4 separate regions of the Homo sapiens genome follow, and all the other regions are linked to region 3. The links are contacts of gene promoters, found by promoter capture Hi-C in blood cells and fetal thymus (Javierre and others, 2016). All regions are on one chromosome and are shown on one strand. The core of a region is centred on a gene start or on the middle of the fragment in contact, and the rest is flanking DNA. Distances in the headings are between cores, read along the strand shown.

Region 1 (3,302 bases), core at 803-3,302, 290 kb after region 3:
CCAGGACATTGTTGACCAGCATGGCCCTTTTCCTGGCAGGCAGACAGAGTGAGGCTGTGAGGGTGAGGGCACCCAGCAGTGGCTCCCTTCCTGTTTCCCCCACCCCTGCCCTCCAGCTGCGAACCTTCCAAGCCACTGAGAGATGATACCAATGAGGAAGGAGGAAATCATGCCGCCCACGGAAAAGATGGCCACGGAGAGGGCCCAGAGGGTGGTGAGGGTGCCTGGAGGGATGGAGCTGGGTCCCTCAGGCCCCTGCCTCCCCAGCCACGTCTCATTGTAGCTCTGTTCAATCACCTGGGGGACAGCAGAGGACAGATTTCCTGCAGACCGTCCCCTTTCCACCACCCCCGAGACACCTGTCCTCCTCGTTTGGGTACCCCCACCCTGCCAGCTGCAGGCCCTCACCTTCTGAGGGGCATTGATGACCCCAATGTTGTACCCAAACTGCAGGGAGCCAAGCACCGCAGAGAACACAGCAAGGACCAGGGTCCCAGTCACTCGCTGCTGAGGGGGTTCCCCATCCTGAACAGGCAGACACAAAGACACAGCATGTCACATGGAACCATGATTTTTTTCCTTCCGCTAGGGGCCCGGGCCCAGCTGGAGCCTGAAGATACTGGGCTCCACCCAACATGTTGGGTGAGGGAAACTGGGCCATATTAGGAATTGCACAAAGATCTCAATGTAAACAGGAGCTGAACTGCAACCTGGGCATAAAGGAGAAACTGGATGTTTGGGTCCATAAGGCAGAGAAATGTTTGAGAACTTGTCTCAAAATTCTTCTGTGACCTTGAGACAGGCTTGGCCTTAAGAGCTCAGATTTGTGTGACCTTGGCCAAGTCACTTCCCTGCCCCGAACCTGAGTGTCCTCTGTGAGATGGGGGTGATGTTGCCTGCCTTGCCTACCTATCTGTGAGAGTGTTGTGAAAATCAACATCACATGTTAACAATATCCTTGACAGTGCTGGTTTCATAAATTAACACGTGCATTATTATCATCAGCCACTGTCCTCTTCCCTCCCCTCTGGGGGTTCTGTCAGCCAGCTCCAGGAGGCCCCCAACAGGACCAAGAAGTGCTGTTCCAGAAAGGACATCCCGGTCATCTAGGGGTGGCCTTCTCTATCTACGTCGTGGCCTGCCCTCCCCCTCTAACCTCCGTGCAGGGAGGGCCGTCCAGGGGTTCTGCCTGGGAGAGCCATGCCCAGGGGAGGAGGGCAGGAAGGTAGTGTGAGGGGCGGTGGCAGTGGTGGCCGCTCGCTGGCGGCACAGACTGTCTCCAAGCGGAAACCTGAGCTGGAGGAGGGGGGGCTGACAGTCCCCTCTGCCCCTCCACCAACCATGGGGCCAAGGGAAAGTTCAGCGTCCTGGAGGGCGGCCAGGAGTGGGGGTGGGGGCCCACGGAGAGCCTCCGGTCCTCGAAACACTGCCCGTGAGCGAAGACGGACGGACAGCTCCCGGAGGGCAAGACCCGCCTGGATCTGCTTTCCCGAGTCGGATCGAGGGCAGGGTGTCCCCGATTCCGGAGCGCCGCGCCGCCTACTAGGCAAGGGGGTGAACCCTGGCTCGCAGAATCCACTTGCTGCCTGTGCCCCGAAAGGCCCTCCAGACCCACTCTGCCTTTTGGTAGGATTGGAATCTCACAGTCACGGGTTGTCCAGGCCGGGTATAAATAGCCAGCCCCCTACCTTCACCCCCTGCGCCTGCGCAGGAACCACCCCCAGCTGACCCCAACCGCGACCCCAGCCCAAGAAAAGCGGGACCCGTGCCCCCCCGCCCCGCCCCCTCATGATGAATCCTACTTCGGAGCCTATCTGTTGGAAGCCCGACGGCATCTCGTCTTAGAAGAGCTGGACGCGCAGGGGCGGCGAAGATGAAAGAACCGATCCTGGAGTCTCTGACTCCGGCCTGGAGCGCAGAACCTGCGGAGGCCGCGGGGGTCCCGGAGTGACGTGCGAGGGCGGGCCCGATGGGACCCACAGCCACAAGCCAAGGACCCGGAGAGCAGTGGGGCTCCCGCGGATCTGGTGGAGCGGGGCTGGGGGAAAAGACGCGAGAAGCCCCCGCCACCTCGCTCCTGCCCCCGCGGGCCACGCCCTTCACAGCACCCATTGGCCAGGAGCCCGCACACCCCAGAAGGCCACGCCCCCTCCGCCTGGGGTTTAGAGTTTGGCTGGAGTTGGTGGGGCGGGCCAATGAGGCCACGCCCCTCCGCGTGGCTGGCGAGACACGCCTCTCGGGTTCCCGCCAGCCTCCGACTGGGAAGTTTTGAGAAAAGAGTCCCTGGAACAAAAGGCCCCGCCCACCCACGTGTTAGGACTCCGCCCACCAGCTAGGATCCCGGGCTGCAGAAGCATCTTAAACTCTGCGGGTCTGGACAGTGGGGTCTGAGAGGAGAGGACGGGCCAGGTGTACTTGCCCCGGGGAAACTCCAGCGGCCTGAGACGGCTCGCGAGCCGGCGCGCGGGTTGGGAGAGGAGCAATGCCCCAAAGTAACCCGGGGCTGCTATTTTTAGCTCCCACGTTGGGAGCCTCCAAATGTCAGGTCCCGGGCGTCCCGGCCTGTCCCAGGCGGGGGCGGAGAGACAGGGAGATGACGCCTTAAAGAGTCCGCGACATGCTTCCCACGCGAGTGTGGCCCTGGGGGCCAGGAAATTCCGTTCCCACAACGGGTCTGGTGGCCGGGCTGCTTGGTCCTGTCTTTCAGCGCCTCCCTGCTCCGGGCACTGTCTATCCCGCCCTTCCCCTACACACATTCCCCAGGTTGGTTCCTGGAGCCGGTCCGAGGGACAAGTGGTCACAACCGACCACACCACCAGCCCTGAGGTCTCTGAGCCTCTGAGGTCTCTGAGCATATGCTGGCCGCGTGAACGACACGCTCTCTGGAGGCTGCTCCGGGTTTGGATCCTCGGCCAAATTCTGCCAGGCAGAAAGTGCGCGACCTAGGGTCGGCGTGTGGGGAGAGAGAAGCCGAAATACCCAGAGCGTGGAGAGTGTCTGGCTCAGAAAACGGGCTTCGGAAGCGCAGGGTTGTGCTGCCACCTGGAGGGCGAGCGAGGAGCCGCAGTGGATTGCACTTGGAATCTCAACCCACTATTTCTCGCCTTTCCGCCACCATAGGGCTTCAGTGACATCTGACCCAGGCCCTTCTCTGGAGCTGCAGATCCAGGTGTTCGTTACCGCCCGGATGTGGCAGCTCTAGTGATCAGCATGTCCAAACCTGCTCCTCCTCCTAACTTCCTTATTTCAATGAATTACCCGCCCAGTCACCCCTATGGTAGAAGTCAGGCTCGATTCCTCCT
Region 2 (3,172 bases), core at 424-2,923, 360 kb after region 3:
CCCAGGCAGATGGATTCCTCCCGGGCCTGAGAGGAACTGCAGGAATTCTCCTGCCTCTTACCCGTAAAACCCCAACTTCTCTAGCCCTAGGGCAGGAAGTCCCAAACAATTTCTACCCCTTTTTCTGCAATTCTCATTGGGGTGAGAGGAGGCCCAGGAGGAGAGAGAGCTGGGCTCAGCTTCTTTTTGAGCTGCTGGAGCCCTCTGTGAGGAGGCCCTCTTTGCTGGCTTCTCAGGAGAGCGTGGCTAGGTTCTGCCTGCCTATGGGAAGAGGGGGCCAGGGTGTGTGGAGCAAGATGGTGGCGGTGCTGGTGCCTTGGGACCTGGGGGAATGGGACAGCTGGTCGGCTCAGAGACGGCCTACTTTACTCACAGCTGGAATTTAGTGGGGAGAAGCAGCTCAACTCCAATCCTGGAGGATTAGGGAGATTAAAGTGAGAGAAGAGAGAGATGTCCCAGAGACCAAGAGGTGAAAAACAGGGCTCCTTGTGGAGGGGAGGTCTGGGAGCGAAGTGGGGGGCTGGGGCTCGGAGATCCTTCTCCCCAAATCTTTCCGTAGGGGCTGGGGTGAAGGGCACAGTCTGGGGAGATGAAGTGACAGTGTGTTCATCTTCCTGTGTTGGCATCTTCCCTGTCCCAATTCTCCTTGCATCTCACTAGCTCCCAGGTCAGCCCTCTGGCTCCTGGCACCCCCACTGCTGCGGTGGGCACCCCCACTCCTCACAGTGCTGCATAGCGACCTCTTCCAGGCCTTGCTGGGTGAGTAGCCCGTTTTCTGAGGGACCTGGGCCTCCAAGGGCCATTACTGAACTTCGGGGGCTGTTTGGGAGCCCAGAGATCATTTGGTCCAAGCTGGAGCACCATGCAGGGTCCTGCCTATGGTGTCCTCCATGAGTGTGGACCAGCCTTGGCTGAAAGGGCTCCTCCCTTGCCAGCCAGCCAGCAGCGGTGATGACAGGGGTGATGTGCCTGGAGAGGCCTGGGGTGGGGAGGTAACTCAGTTCTGTTCCTGTGACAGACATCCTGGACTATTATGAGGCTTCCCTCTCAGAGAGTCAGGTAAGGAGGTGGGGGCGAGCGCCTAACTTCCTGAGGGGCAGGCAGGGCTGGAGGGGTGAGCCAAATATCACTAATATTACCTGGAATCTTGGGGGCCCTGCTGACAAAAGCCTGAGTCAGTGGCCCAGGGACTTGGGGCACCGAGAATGCACTCTCTGTGGTCCTGTACCCACTCTCCCTTTCTTCCTCGTTTTCTTTGGCTGCCCCAGTTTCAGGCACTAAAGAGTCTAGGGCTTAACTTTTTAGGTTTCCCCCTGAGAAACCTGAGGGAGAACTAGGCCCCCAGGGATTGCCTCCTTCAGCTCCTCCCTCACACCCGACCCCCTACCGCCTGCCGAGAGGCCTCCCTCCCGTATTCAAATAACCGTGGGTGCTCCCAGCCCAACTATAGATGCTTCCTTCTCTAAGAAATGAAATCCAGCCTCATCGTCTTTGCTGTCATCGCTGGTGGCTGGCCAGGTCTCCATGTTTGCCTCAGGGGCCTCTGTGCTTCTGCTTCTATCTCCTTTCCCATTATCCGGGTTCCTGCCAGCACAGAAGGAGTTAACTCTGCCAAGGCACCCCCCCCATTCTGGCTCCTAGCTCCCTCCCTCCCTCCCCCTGCTTCCTCTCTCCTCCTCTCTCCCCTTCCCTCTTCGGCTCCACGGCTCCCTCGGCCGCTGCCGTTTCCAACCCCCCCACCCCACTCCCCCGCCACGGCCCCTAGCCCCTGGCCGTTTGGCAAGACCCCCCCCTACCCCGGGGCTCCCCGAAATCCAGTTCCCCTCCCCCACCCCAGCTCATGCCCCAGCCCCCGAACTCCGGGGCTGCCAGCCCCCGGTGCCCCCGCCCCTCCTGAGAATCGGGGTGTGCTCCCCAAGCCCCCTCCCCTCCACTGGGGAGCCCCTTTTAGGGCCCCCTTCCCCTCCCTCCCACGCTCCCCTCCCCTTCCCTTCTCCAACCCCCTCCTTCCCCTCTCACCCCTCCCCCCATCCTGGCCCCCCCTGCAAAAGTGGGGTGCGGAGGGGGGAGGGGTGAGAACCCACGGAGGGGAGGAACGAAACTCCGATGAAGTCAGAGCCCCTTACCCGCCGCCGCGGCCAGGCCCCCCAACATGGACTGTCTCTGTATAGTGACAACCAAGGTAAGCATGATGGGGGGGCTATAAACTGGGGGGAGGGTATGAGTTTGTGGGGAGGGGTTAGTAGGCCTTATCTGGGACTGGCGCCCCTGGAGTGGCAGCATCAGAAGTAAGATGTATTTGGGGGTCTTAATTTAGTTTTGGGGTTCACATCTGAGAAAATGCAGGATTTGGCCACAGGTGCCCCCTGGAGTGATCCCTTTGTACCTGTAGGGATATGGAAAATTTAGGATATTCCATGGTTCGGGGGGCCTGGCGGGTTTGGGGGTTCATCAGCGCTGTTTGAGGGAGACTTATTTAAGGAGAAGCCTGGCTCATAAGGGAGTCCTGCTGGTGTATGTGGGAAGGTGGGCTATGTTGGGGGGTTCCTCTTTCCTCCCCAGGGAAAAGCTGGCTTCCAAGGGCCTTGTCCAGTTTTGGGGGGCTCCTGGCATGGGGTAAAGGTTATTGGTTGTGAGTGCCTGACTGATCTGGGGGTGTCAGCTGGCAGGGAAGGGGTGGGCCTTCAGACTCTAGAACAAGCATCTCGTGGTGGCTGCATTTAGGGATGCTCTCTCAATTTGAGGGAACTGTTAATTTAGGGTTCAGTCATATAGAATGGAGGTAGTTGGAAGTTGTCAGAGGGCTGGGGCCCTGGCATGGGATCACCTGAGGGAATGGACCAGGTGAGGCAAGGATTTGGGGGTACTCCCATAGGAGGCAGAAGATTGCAGCAGCCGAGCTTGCCAGCCCCTGAGGAGGAGGATGAGAGGCTTAGGGAGAGAGGGGATTTGAGGAGGGGGACCGGGTGGGTGGTGCACAATTTGGGGGTGGCCCAAAGGCAGGTGCCCAATATCCCCATCTCCTCCCACACTGTATCTAGCCCTGATCAAGAGAGAGGGAGAAGAGCAGATGTGGGGACTGTTCCAGATACCCCTGACGCTTGGGATCAAGGTGGGGGAGGACACCTGGATTTAAGGGTCCCTGAGGGCTTATGACCGAAGTTACTGAGGT
Region 3 (3,323 bases), core at 127-2,626:
CAGCCGGGCTCTGTCAGGAGTGGCCTGCATGATGCCATCAATCTGCTGTCCCAGATCCAACTCCCACCAGCTCCCAAAAAATACCCAAAGGAGGAGTTTCTATAAAACTGAGGCATTTGCCCCATGCAGGCAGCGGCTCAGGCCAGGCCACCCCCGACATAAGGGGGTGACCCTTTCTGAAGACAGGCCGGCAGGCGTGCCGCCGCGCTCACGGTGCCCAGAGGTGGTGCTTGCCGCCGGGTCCACGTGGGCCCGACCCAGCCGCTTAAAGCCCAAGCGCGTGCACCTCCCACCGCAGCACCAGCGCGCTGGAAGTCCCGCCCTTCACCTCCCAGATCGGAGGGTAGGACATCCCCTTCCCCCCACGTCATCCCGCCCGCGCCCTCCCCCACTCCCTCCAGCCGAAGCCCCCCCCTCGCGTTGCCCGGATGTGGGAGGCCGCGGGCGGTGGCGGCCTCGCGCACAATGAGCCCAAGCCGAGCTAGCAAAGGGGGAGATTGCACAACACTTAGAAGCGAAGCAGACTGGGGGAGGGGAACGCCTCAGGCCACCATGTGCTCGCTCCCTCGACCACCCGGCGGCGTCTCCCACCCCTCCATGAACAATCCACATCCCGCCCGCCCCCGTCGCGAAGTAGCGTCGCCCTCCCATACCTCAGGCCGCTCACCCCCGAAGGAAGGTGGACCTGCCCATCCGCAGTTTGCCAATAGCCCGGCTTGTGCGGCAAAATGGACCCGCCCGCCCGGCGCCGGGTGGGCTCCTGGTGCCTCACGCGGCCGCTCCTCGGGGTTAGGCTCAGTCCTGGCCGTCAAGAAAACCAGCACACTGAACGGCCGGTTTCTTCTCCCCGACCCGTGTTTTAGCCGCGACGAAGTGACTGGATCTAAGGACCAGGCACCCCCGCCTCTCGCGAGTGGTACCGTCAGAATGCTCCGGAACCCCGCGCGCCGTCCCTCCCCCGGCACAGGGAGGCAACCGGACCTGCCGGCTCTGGGCCACACATAGTGGCGGCCGCCTCCACCTTTCTTTCCCACGCCAGGTCGCGACCCCGTCTCGCCACTCAGCGCCGGGGCTTCGCGCATGGCACCGCCTCGGGTCGAGGCCTCGTAACAGACCTCGCACGCCTGACCCTAGCCGGGCTGTCCCTACCCTCCGCCTCGACCTGGTGGCCGCGTCGGCCGTGGGTCTTCCCCCTCGCCCCTCCAAGTCGGACCCTCCCCCCACCCGGTTCGGTTTCTCCCGCAACCCTGGTGGGCCTCTCAGCTACCCCCGGCGGGCCCGTCGGAAGGGGGCGGCAAAATAAGCAGCCACAATCTCTTGCAAATGCCTTTCTTACCGGGAATCCTGGCTCGCAGACATGATCCTTAGAAACTAGGGCGGAGTGCCCGCCTATCGACAACTTATAGAGCGCCCGACTCCGCCCCGGCCATCGCATTGGTTTGGCCGCCCCGGCCCCGCCTGCCGGCGCTCAGCAACTCGGCATGACGTTAGTTCCTAGTCGCTCCGGCCCGCAGGCACCATTGGATAACTCGAGTGCCTATCAAGGTGAAGGCCCGCCCCGCAGCCTCATTGGCTGGAGGGCCCGCCTTTCTCGCCGGTACGGAAGTGACATAGAAGAGTCAGGCCTCGAGGCCTGGCAGCCATCTTGGGGCCCTGCACTCTCACACGTGCGGAGGCGACAGTGCCTTGGTCATGTGGCTCCGTAGGCCCTATCACGCAAGGGGGGCGAGGTCTCAGCCTCCAGAGGCTTCCGGGCTCTGGGGGTTATCACTTCCCTTTACTTCTGCTCCCGGTCTCCACTGGACTCAAATGTTATTTGTTTTCCCCTGTAGCAGAGATGGATTCGACACTGCCTGGACGTGTGCCAGGGATGAAGGAATCAACAGCGATATCGTAGGGATGGGAGGATTCCCCTGGCTGGATGGTGGAGGGATGGAAGAAAACTGTAAAGGGCTTTGGGGTACTATCATGAATCCTGGTTGGTCCCCTCCCCAGTCCCTTGTGTCCAGTTCCCCAGCTTCCCTCTCGGATGCCCTTATTCTTGAGGCTTATCTACTTTCCCTCCTTCCTGCTCTCTGCTCCCATCTCGGGGATTTGTTTGGGTGAAGACAAGGTGTTGGCAGTGCCTGAGCCAGGGATGGAAAGCTGAACCCTTTAGTCTCAAGAGACTGGCTGGAAGGTCTGAGCTAAGCATATCCACTAATTTGAAGCCCCTTAAGGAAGACCACCACTTACGTATCAACAAAGGATCCTTTATTGACCAGAGCAGGACCGTGGCATTTATATATTTTTATATATATATATATATATATATATATATATATATATATATATATATATATATATATATATATATATATATAAAAGTTTGAAGATCTGGCAGGCAGTGATCCTATTGTCCGCCCACCACCCCCAGCACTGATTTCCTGCTCCCTGCACGGGGAAGGGGGAGGATGACTGCTCCACCCAGGCCACAGGGCCACACTCCCCTGCAAACAGAGGAAGAAAGGGGCTTTTCTGTAGCCACCCCCTGCACATCAGAAATCAACAAGTATTCTCTCAAAGAAAAAAAAATACAGAAATTGAAACATTTAAATATGAAAAACCAAAGGGAAGTGAGTGGGAAGAGGCAAGAGAGGAAAGGAACTGGAGTTTCTTGGGAAGGGACTCCCATGTCTCCCTTCCCATTTATGGGCTTGGGGTCTGGGGTACGAGGCTCACACAGTGAGTTTGCAGTGACACAGCTCCTTGTAGATCTGCCGACGAAGTTTGGGCATGTCCTGCTGGGTGAAGCTGAATGGCTGAGACAGGGCCAGATGCTTGCAGTACTGGGTGTTAACAAAGCAAGCCATGAGAAACCCCCCGTGTCAGGACCTGTGCTACACATTTCATATGAGATGTGTCTCCATCCTTCAGAGAACATCCCCAAAGGGAGCCAGGGTCCCACAGCCTGGGGTTCAAAAACAGCCTGACTCTAAAGCTAGTGTTCTTACTTGATAGAATGTTTTAGATGGAGAAAATACACTGAGTTGGAGGTTAGCAGGGAGCTCTATGAAGGCCAGAGGCCCAAGACTAGAGACCCAGTCCCAATGTGGGATGGAGAAGTCCAGAAGAGAACCAGTGAAGCCAGTGTTTTGGTGTTCTAAAACAGATTACTTCCTGCTCCACAACTGACTATGAGCCAAATGAGGGGATGCATAACAGCCTCCCGACCCTTTAACCCAACTGACTTCAGAGCTAGGGGAGGTGGCCCCATCATCTGCTTACCTGCAACACAAAAGCACCACAGTCACTGTCATTATTCTGCCTGGCCACATTCTAGA
Region 4 (3,481 bases), core at 350-2,849, 340 kb after region 3:
CAGTCCCTGTGCTGCCAACACCCCCTGAGGCTCCTAGGCCCCCTGCCACAGTGCACCCTGAAGGAGTCCCTCCTGCTGACAGTGAAAGCAAGGAGGTGGGCAGCACTGAAACAAGCCAAGATGGAGATGCCAGCTCCAGTGAAGGCGAGATGCGGGTCATGGACGAGGACATCATGGTAGAATCAGGTGAGAGGTTCGGGCTGGGGCGAGGGGTTTGAGGGTGTTGTGGATCCAACAGCTCAGGCAGAATACCAAACAAACCTTTTTTTCCCCAGGTGATGACTCATGGGATCTGATCACATGTTACTGTCGAAAGCCCTTTGCAGGGCGGCCCATGATTGAGTGCAGCCTGTGTGGGACGTGGATCCACCTCTCCTGTGCTAAGATTAAGAAGACCAACGTCCCCGACTTCTTTTATTGCCAGAAATGCAAGGAACTGAGGCCAGAGGCCCGGCGGTTAGGGGGGCCTCCCAAATCTGGAGAGCCCTGATGGCACCAACTTTAGCCTGGAACTTCCAAATGACAACATGATTTGGGAACTGAGCCTCAGGGTCCTCAGCCTATCCCCTGGAGCTTGGATACTGTCTGCACTTCAAGGCAGGAATTCTCAAGGGAGACTTGTTTGAAAATGAGTGTCTCACTTTCCCACCCTATCCTTCCTCCCCACTCTGTGGACTTGAAATTGAATCCATTACGGTTGGGGATGGGAGGCTGTCTGTGTCCCGACACATAATCTCTGTCTCTTGGACCTGCCACCATCACTTTCTGGGTCAGGATTGGAATTGGGATGGAATGGGACAGTTGTCTATAAAACTCTAGTGTAAATATTAGCACTCCCCTCCCTCATCTTTTCTTCTATTTCACTCCCCATTTATTTTCTTCTACACCGGTTGTATTTTTAATTTTGGACTTCCCCTATTGGGCATGGCAGCTCAAAGGTGGAGTACTAGAGCCTGGCCAAGTGAGGAAGGAAAGCAGAAAGGTGACGATTCTCACTCACCTCTTTTGTTTTTAATAATATCGGCCGCTGTTTGTACAGACAGCCTGCGTGTTGTAAATAAAGCAGAGTGGGCTCTTTTGTGTTTATAGCCCTCACTGTCCTGCTCGGGAGGGAGGCTTTGGTGGCTGAAGACTAGCTGGAGGTGGGGCTGAAACCCACGTCTCAAAGTCCAATCTGAAGATATCACAGCACTGGGCCTTTCCCACCCCAAGACAAGTAAGCCACCTTAGAGCTTTCATTGTATTTGGCCCTCCCCACTCGAGTCTAGGAACCCCCACAGTCCCCACCTTCACTCCCTGCACGCACACTCCTGCGGGTCAGAGTTGCTTCGTGCTCCATCGTGGGTGGGGTAAAGCGGGGTGGGAGCCGATGGTCCGTTTCCTGAAGGCACAGGCCAGCTTAGCCTGGGTGCTCAGAGGACCTCGGCTGGGGTACACGTTTGGGGGCTGGGAGACCGTTGCTGAAGGCAGCGATCATGTGGCGGGGGCACTAGGCGGAGTCAGACGGTCACGTGATTGGGAGGGGATCACGTGACGGAGGGCGGCTGAGGAGCGCGGGGTGGCTGCCTTTAAGTCACGTGACATGAGGAGAGGTGGGCGGGTACCTGGAGGAAGCTCGCGGCGTCGGTGGCGGTGGCGCGCGGCGGCCGCTGAGACCGGGGCTTTGAGTCGCACCCCGCGGCCCGCCCCCCGCCGCCACCCTCGCAGATCCGTGCTTTTTCCCCTTTGCTTCTCTCCCGTACTGGGTCAGTCCTGTCCGCGCTCGCGCGTCGGTTTGCGGGTGTGCGCAGGCGCGGCAGGGGCCATTAGCCCTTTGGGTGGGCGGTGGAGCCCGGGAGCGCGCGGGCGAGACCATGGCGGGTAGCAGCACTGGGGGCGGTGGGGTTGGGGAGACGAAGGTGATTTACCACCTGGATGAGGAAGAGACTCCCTACCTGGTGAAGATCCCTGTCCCCGCCGAGCGCATCACCCTCGGCGATTTCAAGAGCGTCCTGCAGCGGCCCGCGGGCGCCAAGTACTTTTTCAAGTCTATGGATCAGGATTTCGGGTGAGCGCAAGGCCTAGATAGGACCGGCGGGGGCTTTGCTAGAGTGGATTGGGCGACATGGAGGGGCACACGTCTACTTTGGGCCACACTGGGATTTTCTGGCCTATGGTGGAGCAGATTGTACTATGCTGAGGTAGGTTGACTATCCCAGGATGGACAAGGTTATGCTTGGATAGATTGAGGCACACGGACAGACTAGGATATCCTAAACCAGATTAGACAAGATTAGGCTTTACTGGAATAGGTGGGGGCATACTGGTTTATGTTGGAGTATTCTAGTCTGTACTGAGTAAATTGATCCATTGTCTGGTTGTTTAGTACGTTCTCAGGAGTCCTGTAACGCCTGTAATCCCAGCACTTTGGGAGGCTGAGGCGGGCGGATCACGAGGTCAGGAGATCGAGGCCATCCTGGCTAACACGGTGAAACCCCATCTCTACTAACTAAAAATACAAAAAATTAGCCGGGCGTGGGGGCACGCGCCTGTAGTCCCAGCTACTTGGGTGGCTGAAGCAGGGAGAATCTCTTGAACCTGGGAGGCGGAGGTTGCAGTGAGCCGAGATCGCGCCACTGCACTCCAGCCTGGGCGACAGTGCGAGACTCCGTCTCAGAAAAAAAACAAAAAACACTTGGGCCATTATGGACTCTACTGGGTTGTATTGGTTAATCCTGGTTTCTCTTGGGGCAAGACTTGGTTTTATTGGAGCACTCGGTATAGGGGCAGACAAGGCTGTTGGGGCCTGTGCTAGCACAGGCAGCCGTATTGGGATGTTCCAATCTAGACTGGTGCAGACAGCTGCGTGTGGGGGCATTGTAGGCTGTGCTAGAATAGATTGGGCTATCCTAGGGTAATTTGGGACATTCAGGGCTATCTTGGACTAGATTGGCGTGTAAATAATGCAGAGAAAGCCCTTTTGTGTTTATGGTCTTTGGGGCTGAGCCTTCTGGGTCCTCAACCTCTGCTTTTTTTTTTTTTTTTTTTTGAGACAGTCTCGCTCTGTCGCCCAGGCTGGAGTGCAGTGGCGCATTCTCAGCTCACTGCAAGCTCTGCCTCCCGGGTCCACGCCATTCTCCTGCCTCAGCCTCCCAAGTAGCTGGGACTACAGGCGTCCGCCACCACACCCGGCTAATTTTTTGTATTTTTTAGTAGAGACGGGGTTTCACCGTTTTAGCCAGACTGGTCTCTGACTTCTGACCTCGTGATTCGCCCGCCTCAGCCTCCCAAAGTGCTGGGATTACAGGCGTGAGCCACCGCGCCCGGCCCAACCTCTGCTTTTTTGAAGGCAGGCTGGATTAAGTTGGGATAGCATGGGTTTTAGAAGAACTGAACAAACTGGACTCTAGCTAGAAAGATTGTTTGACATGGGGATGCTGATACTATCTTGGGAGTTATCTTGGCTTTAAGGCAAGGTTTTTCTAGTTGTCAGCAATGTAAT

Evidence for each region. Contacts are between HindIII fragments. The CHiCAGO score rates a contact against its expected background, and 5 or more counts as called.
Region 1: a contact is called between the fragment with the promoter of SLC2A4 here and the fragment with the promoter of EIF4A1 in region 3, in 3 of 17 cell types (total CD4 T cells, non-activated CD4 T cells and fetal thymus). The highest score is 5.8, in total CD4 T cells.
Region 2: a contact is called between the fragment with the promoter of DLG4 here and the fragment with the promoter of EIF4A1 in region 3, in 10 of 17 cell types (activated CD4 T cells, non-activated CD4 T cells, naive CD8 T cells and 7 more). The highest score is 9.9, in activated CD4 T cells.
Region 4: a contact is called between the fragment with the promoter of DVL2 here and the fragment with the promoter of EIF4A1 in region 3, in 16 of 17 cell types (naive B cells, fetal thymus, total CD4 T cells and 13 more). The highest score is 17.0, in naive B cells.

What each region holds. Positions count from the first base shown.
Region 1 is chr17:7,280,468-7,283,769 of GRCh38, reverse strand. It overlaps SLC2A4 (solute carrier family 2 member 4), which reads right to left and starts at 2,052. Exons shown (of 11, transcript NM_001042.3): 1 at 1,803-2,052; 2 at 409-525; 3 at 125-297; 4 at 1-32. The coding sequence starts at 1,835. RefSeq lists an enhancer at 819-1,806 and a silencer at 1,939-2,088. The HindIII fragment of the contact is 20,977 bases long and covers 1-3,302 here.
Region 2 is chr17:7,216,128-7,219,299 of GRCh38, reverse strand. DLG4 (discs large MAGUK scaffold protein 4) reads left to right here and starts at 1,673. Exons shown (of 20, transcript NM_001321075.3): 1 at 1,673-2,182. The coding sequence starts at 2,153. It also overlaps a transcript of ACADVL not described here. The HindIII fragment of the contact is 10,481 bases long and covers 1-3,172 here.
Region 3 is chr17:7,570,878-7,574,200 of GRCh38, reverse strand. It overlaps EIF4A1 (eukaryotic translation initiation factor 4A1), which reads right to left and starts at 1,376. Exons shown (of 11, transcript NM_001416.4): 1 at 1,337-1,376. The coding sequence starts at 1,359. It overlaps SENP3 (SUMO specific peptidase 3), which reads right to left. Exons shown (of 11, transcript NM_015670.6): 10 at 3,268-3,318; 11 at 2,232-2,828. The coding sequence ends at 2,718. SENP3-EIF4A1 (SENP3-EIF4A1 readthrough (NMD candidate)) reads right to left here. Exons shown (of 22, transcript NR_037926.1): 10 at 3,268-3,318; 11 at 2,722-2,828; 12 at 1,337-1,917. RefSeq lists enhancers at 19-148, 1-366, 367-1,122, 1,629-1,698, 1,819-1,878 and 2 more and silencers at 289-428, 1,329-1,388, 1,399-1,458. The HindIII fragment of the contact is 10,998 bases long and covers 1-3,323 here.
Region 4 is chr17:7,232,635-7,236,115 of GRCh38, reverse strand. It overlaps DVL2 (dishevelled segment polarity protein 2), which reads left to right and starts at 1,599. Exons shown (of 15, transcript NM_004422.3): 1 at 1,599-2,047. The coding sequence starts at 1,854. It overlaps PHF23 (PHD finger protein 23), which reads left to right. Exons shown (of 5, transcript NM_024297.3): 4 at 1-186; 5 at 276-1,078. The coding sequence ends at 490. RefSeq lists an enhancer at 1,402-1,451 and a silencer at 1,562-1,861. The HindIII fragment of the contact is 14,867 bases long and covers 1-3,481 here.